Linked DNA regions of Homo sapiens: region 1 is linked to region 2. The links are contacts of gene promoters, found by promoter capture Hi-C in human tissues and cell types (Jung and others, 2019). All regions are on one chromosome and are shown on one strand. Each heading gives the region's core, a stretch centred on a gene start or on the middle of the fragment in contact. The rest is flanking DNA. Distances are from core to core; before and after follow the strand shown.

What was found. The method cuts DNA at HindIII sites, captures the fragments that hold promoters and counts their contacts. A contact is called where the count stands out against the background at its distance.
Region 1: a fragment that was not itself captured here is called in contact with the fragment with the promoter of TENM4 in region 2 in 1 of the 25 tissues and cell types used here (aorta).

The regions. Positions count from the first base shown.
Region 1 is chr11:79,479,751-79,483,320 of GRCh38, forward strand. No RefSeq gene overlaps it. Among named protein-coding and RNA genes, the nearest start is that of TENM4, 41 kb to the left of the region's middle. The HindIII fragment of the contact is 3,520 bases long and covers 1-3,061 here.
Region 2 is chr11:79,438,984-79,442,279 of GRCh38, forward strand. It overlaps TENM4 (teneurin transmembrane protein 4), which reads right to left and starts at 2,047. Exons shown (of 34, transcript NM_001098816.3): 1 at 1,526-2,047. RefSeq lists silencers at 1,636-1,745, 2,006-2,175. The HindIII fragment of the contact is 13,466 bases long and covers 1-3,296 here.

The sequences.
Region 1 (3,570 bases), core at 52-2,551, 40 kb after region 2:
TGACATTTTCCATCCCAGCCAACTCTATGAGGTAGAAGAGCCTCTAACTCTGAATGAACTCTAAAGTTTAGTCTCACAAGTGTTGCTGCTGAAATTACTCTTTCTGGAACAGAAGTTTACAGGTTTTAAAACATCTCAAATTCATTATGTGTTTTCATCCTCTCAGCATTCCAAGGAAGTAGGCTGGAATTAGAACTTTTCTAGCAGTTTTTGGCAATACCATCAGAAAGGGGAAAGTACAATGTCGTCCTAATGTCATTAGCACTTTGAATCACCCAGGCAGGCATGTGTTGAGGCTTTCCAGTGTGAATGTTCTCATTGAAACAGTGTTCTGTATTTTGATACTAAAACACGAGCAGGCCTGGTCTGCTCTGTTTGGCAGAGTACGAGCTCCCTACAAATGACTGTGCCTTTCTCAGTTCAGGTTTAGCACCTGGGAAAGAAGAAGAACTCTGGAAGTGTTCATTGACTGACTGACTGAGTGAATGGATGGGTGGATGGATGGATGGATGAATGAATAAATGGGGGAAGGCACAGGAAATTAGACTAATGGGTAGAAGAAAACTGAGATCACAAAGATCTGGGACTAAGATCCTTAAAATGTGATGAATATAAGATAAGAAGTTCCCAACATAAAAACTAAAACTGTAAACTGAGAAAAGAATAGATTAAAATATATATGAAATTTAAAAATGTGAACATATGTTGTATTTAATTAAGATCAACAATAAGCAAATGAGAAGCTTGTGTCTATGTTGACGTTTCAATTCTCACCATGATTTTTGATTAGGTTATATTTATTTATGATTTTTGGCACATTAAAGGGCTTTTTTAAAAAAAAAAAAGAGAAGAAATCCTGAGAATCAGCTTTGAAAGTAAAACAATAAACACAAACACAATTTTCCACTTTACTAAATTTAAATGATATCCTTCTTAATCAACTAAAGAGAAATCAACTGTTATTAATTAAATGCTCAATCATGGAATGACAACTAGCATGATCAACAGAGACTCATCTCCTACACCACTGGTAGCTAACAAGCCTTTTTATGTGATTGACATTAGCAACCATACAGCAAACAAAAGGAATGTCCAGTAAGGCCTGGAGGCTAAAAGTGATTGTGCTCTGGATTGTTGGTAGACGATTAACTAAAGATACACACACACACACACACACACACACCCCAGGTAAAGCCTTTTATAAACTATATATTTTTTATCTATTAAATAGCAACACATATAATTCAACTTTATGGGCAGTAAGAAGTCACTCGTTTAACATAGTCATTGGCCTGGCAATAACTATGTGCCAGGCAGTAGGTGTGGTGTATGTAATGACTATGTGCCAGGCAATAGGTGTGGTGTACGTATTGACTAGGTGCCAGGCAATATTTATATGTAATAACTATGTGCTAGACAATACGTATATGTAATAATTATGTGCCAGGGAACAACTATGTGCCAGGCAATACATATATGTAATAACTATGGGCCAGGCAATATGTATATGTAACAACTATGTGCCAGGCAATATACATATGTAATAACTATGAGCCAGCAATACATATATGTAATAACTATGTGCCAGGCAACAACTGTATGTCAGGTAGTATGCATATGAAATAACTGTGTGCCAGGCAATATGCTTGATGCTGGGGATACAAAAGCAGACAAACTCTAAACTGAAAGTGCTCACAGTCAAGAAGTGAAAACAGACCTGGAAATCAAAGGAAAACAACTTGGTTTGATGTAAAAACAAGAAGAACAAAAAGTGGGGCAGCCCAGAGGAGGAAGGGAGAAATTGACTTTCTTAGATATAAATTCTTGTTTTTTAAAAAAACTCCTTTGAACCTGGTGCTCCATGGGTCATGTCTACTTCACACTGTAGCCAGAGAGCTCTTTCCCAAATGAGAATTTGTGATCATGTTGCTCTTCTCCTTAAAAAGCTCCAGTGCTAATGTCCATCTCTTTGACTAGACTCTCAGTTTCAGGAAGGCAGAGACTGGGTTTGTTTTGCTTGCTGCTTAACACTTCACATTAATCATGAGTTCCATGCAAAGTAGGTACTTAAGTTTATTTGTTGAATGAGTGAACTGGAGACACCAAAACATGATCATAAAGTTTCAAGAAGTTTTCTTCCTTCTCTTTCTACGTCAGTGTGTTCTGGTGGTTAGGGTTTGTAGGAGCTTCCCATGCAGAACAGTGTAGGGTTAAGAGCATGAACTTTGGACCCCATGAGATACAATTCCAAATCTTGACTTCCCCTTTTCCTGTCTGTATGACCTTGAACAAATGATTGAAACTCTCTTAACTTTAGTTTCCCCATCTACAAAACACGAGTAATAACAATAATGATATCTGCATGACAGGATAGCTATGAGGATTATACATTTACAGGAGATGCCTGGCAGACTCCCCTAGGTGTATTAAGTGTTCAGCAAACGTGGACATTATTTTTGAAATTCTCCCCTAAGCAAAAAATCAAATTCCCAAGCTTTTACCATTGCTCAAAACGCTGGGGGTTTTCCTTTGGGACAAGCTTCCAGGGTGCTCATTTCTGAGTCTCAGAAGAGCCTCCAGAGCGGGCAGAATCTGGAGGAACTCAAGGAGAATTCAGTGTCTCCCACTTGGCCACTCAGTATGTTCATCAGATTCGTCCCCAAAAGACTCAGGATTATTTCCAAATTTCAATTGAAAAAGCTAAAGACTTTTCCCCATTGAGAAGTCCAGAACCAATGTTGTTTTGTGGACAACCTGGGGGTGGAGGACAGAAGGGAGTACTTTCAAGAAGGAAGCTCTCCTGATCACTGGTTAAAAGGGGCTGCCTCTTTAACTTAACCTTGTGTCCACCTTAGAAAAGCTAATTTTGTTTGTTTTGTCTGTTTGTTCTTATAGTACATTTCTGCAGGGGAAAAAAATAATGGCAACAAAGGGTGCTGGAAGGTTGGATAAGTGGAAAAGACTCAATCTTTTTGGTATTTGACATCTGATATTTGCATATTTCGTTTTAGGAGTCAGATTTAGATAAGTGGATATATACAAATCACCAAGGGACAGCACAAGGAATACCCACACTTACCCCAGTTTAAAACAGGGTCTCTGTCGAGGTCTCTAATGAGATTTCAATAGTCTGATTTTATAATTTTGAAGCAGTCTTGTAATTAGACATTGTCTGTATGTGGGTGGCATGCTGGAAAGGAAGTGAGAAGGGAGCTGGGAGGCCCAGATTCTAGTTCTTTGTCTGCCTTCCTGTGGTGCTGTCTTTGGGTACATGAGTTCCTCTTTCTATACGTTAGTTGAATCATATTTGTAAATAATGACATCCTTGGTATCTTTTTCACTATGAAGGATCTACTTTTCACTGTTTTCCCCACAGGACCCAATTTTTTGTAAGACTTCGTCTACTGAACAAATAAGAATGGGAAGCCTATTAATAATGGGCTTGTGCAAGCTATACTAGAGGCAGGCAAAGTATCTAGGAGGCAAATTATCAAATTAGCCACTGGAGAGCAATTCTGTCCCAACAGCAGGGATATTCCTGATAATAATTTGAATTGTATTAACTACAAT
Region 2 (3,296 bases), core at 797-3,296:
CAGGCTTGTCTTTCGAGAACCGGGAGCTCGCATCACAGTTCCGGGTAATCACCGAGGCAGCTTATGTAATTGCCCGCGATGCCGCTCAGCAGATCTCTCTCCTTACTCGGCCTCAGAGCTCAGTACATGGGCACCCTCTTCCCCCCACCCCCCACCCCGGCGATTGGAATCCCGAGCTTGCCCCACCACCGCCTTCTACAAAGCAGCGGGGTGATCTCGTGTGCTACAAACACCAAGCCAGTATGCAGGTTCAGGCAAAACTCTGGCTGCCTCCCTGCGCCCCTTTCACTGCGTCGATGGTTTACAGATAACTGCATTTCTATAAACCCTCTCTCCACGGTTAGGGGGTGGGAGGGAGTTAGAGATCGGGTGGGGGCTTGGCGCGGTACTGTTGAGGGCTCTGCACCCAACTGAGCAGTAATACACTCATCCACATGGACGCGGGTGCATAAATCGCCTTAACATTTTGCCCTGAAAGCGGAGCCAATTTCCAAAGTTAAGGACCACGCAGCTGAATTTCCAGTACTTTCCAACCTCGCCTAGGCGGGGGCAGGCAGAGAAGGGGCGGGCAGCGGGCAGCTAACTCGCCCGACCCCCCCGCCAAGAAGGACTCACTAGGTGAACCCCCCGCCCTTCACCCAAGTAGTTGGTTGTGTATTCCTCGGTTGCGTGTGTGTGTCCACACACACACACACACACACACACACACGCCGCCCCACTACCTTCCAGTCTGCTCCTCCAATGTAACGACCGCATTTAAAAATGGCAATTAAAATGACTGAGGAGCTCGGTGATCACATTTCAACCCAGAGCACATTTCCCGAAGCTGGGGGTGAGAGTAGTCATACAGTCACACTCACACCCGGGAGCCCTCCAAGCGTCCATCTGGCGGCTGCAGCCTCAGTTGGCTCCTAGACGAACATCAATACCGCGGCCGGGCGCCCGGTGAGGAGAGGCGGGCGCCCCGCGGGTTGCAGAGGGCGAGGAGCTGGGGTCGCATCTCCAGGATCTGAGCTCCAACCACCGCCCGTGCGGGGCTGCTGCAGCCGGCACTTGCCCCGCAGGGCAGGCTGCAGCCGCTGAAGCCCGGCGCCGCCTCGCGGGCTCCTCCAGCGCCCGACGGGGGCCTGGGGCGAGCTAGTCTGCAGAGGGGCTGCAGGCGACCGGGCCGGGGCGGGGAACGGGATCCGGGAGAGGCAGACGAACCTGGGGCGCGCCGCCTCCCTCCCACCCGCTTCCCACCTCCCTGCCCTCCCCCAACCCTTGCTCCCAGGCTCCAGTCCGCGGCGGGCTCCGGGGGCTGCGGCGGCTCCAGGCTCCAGAACAGCTTGCCTCTTCGGCCACCCGCGCCCTAGCCTCCCTCCTCCTGGGCCAGGGGAGCAAGCAAACATCTCCCGGAGCCCTCGGCAGCCGCGTGAGCTACCCGAACCCTGCCCGGGCCAGCAGTGCAGAGGGCGATGGAGCTGGCGAGGCGTCGCCGCGGTCCCCAAGGCGCTTTTCCGTAGAGCGGATCACGCCGCCTTACCGTGGCTGCAGGCTGCTACCGCCGGGGAAGCGGCGAGGACGGCGGCAGGGAGGCAAGGCGCCGCGCCGGTGGCTCCTCTCTCTCTCGGCGGCGCGGCTCCTCTGCTCCGCGAGCCGTAGCGGGGCGCCCAGGAAGGAGCAGGTCCGGGCTCTGCGCTCAGCTCCAGCGAGACCAACAATAGCTCCCGCGGGGAGCGGAGCCCCAGCGAGCCTCCAGCCGCGCGCGCACGACCGGCTCCCGCTCCCGGCCGCTCCCGGCCGGCGTCCCTGCCAGCACTGCTGCCCCACATGAAACAGCTGCAATCCCGAGGCTTCTGGGGGGTTGGGGCGGGTGTGTGCGCGCGCGTGTGTGAGTGTGTGTGTGTGTGTGTGTGTTTAATAGCTTCCCTTCTCTTCTTCCCCTCCCTGCCTGCTCGCCTGCCTGCCTCCGTCCCCCACCCTCGCTCTCTTACACACAGAAAGAGAGGGCGAGCGAGAGAGAGACACACACACACACGCACACGCACACGCAGGTTACATGAATGGGAGGCGGTAGCCAATCCTACGAGGCCGGCGAGCCGCGCGGCGCACTGGCGCTGGGAGCAGGGCCGCACTCCGGCGCGGGGGGGCGCCACGCAGGTGATGGGCGCCTCTCCGGGGGCCACGCGCGGCCGCTCCCTCACCCCAGTCTCGGTTCCTCTGTCTCCTTCCCCCTTCCTCTCCGCCGCCTTCTCCATCTTCTCTCCTTTTACCTCCTTTGCTTTCTCGAGTTCTCCGAGCTCTCTCAGTTCGGTATCTTTCTGGTCTCTTTCTTCTTTTACCCTCCTTGCTTGCTTTCTCTTCCCCTTTCTGAAACTTTCTCTTTTCCTTTCTGGACTTTCTTGTACTTCCTCTCCTCTTGCCTTTTGTTCTTTCCTCCTCCTTTGGCTTTCTCTCCAGGCTCCCCGTAGCACGGTCTCGTCCCCTCTCCCTCCTCTTCGCCTTTCCCTGGGTCTCTCTGGCGCCCAGGGCCTCCCTTCTGCCTGCTCGCTGGATGTTACTCCACACCCCCCACCCCAACACTTTTCTAGGGACGGTCTCTTTCAAGTTGCTACTGCAGCACAATCAGAGTAATTAAGAGCTGAGATCTTGAGTTCCTTCTTCAGGCATGCAAGATGCCCAAAGAAAGGCCCTCCTTCCTCGGACAACTTCCCCAAAACCATGGTAACAGCTACTGAGTCGTGATAACAATCACTTAAAAAATAGCAGTGATTGCGGTCCAAGAGATTTCTGTCCCTCGAATGTTTGGATCGTGATGGCAAGCACATTTCCAAGAGAAGGGCATTTTTATGTGATGAGAGCGGTAGTTTGACTGAGTGGCAACTTGGAAGGGCTTTGGGGAAGAGACTGGAGGAATTCCCACTCCAGCCCTGCTGCCTGCTGGCTAAAGGACTTAGTGCGAGCCATTTCCCCTTACCCGGCTTCAGTTTTCTCATCTATAAAATGGATGATACCGACTTCACCAGTTTTGGTGAGGATTAAAAGAGAGAACAATGGAAAGAAAGCACTGGGTGTATATGAGATGCTTAATTTATGTTAGTTTCCTTCTTTAAGACAACTTCCTTCATGATCTTCTGCTACAGTGTGTCTCTCTGATCTAAAGTAGTCAATGAAGGAGGAAATGTGACAATGCTAATTTCACATAAATGTGAAAGGAGGGGTAGGCTATTTTGAAAACTCTTCTGTGTGGTGAGGAGACTGTCTAGCCAGTTGCCATATGCTGATTATAAAGGCATCACAGATTATAAACGTGG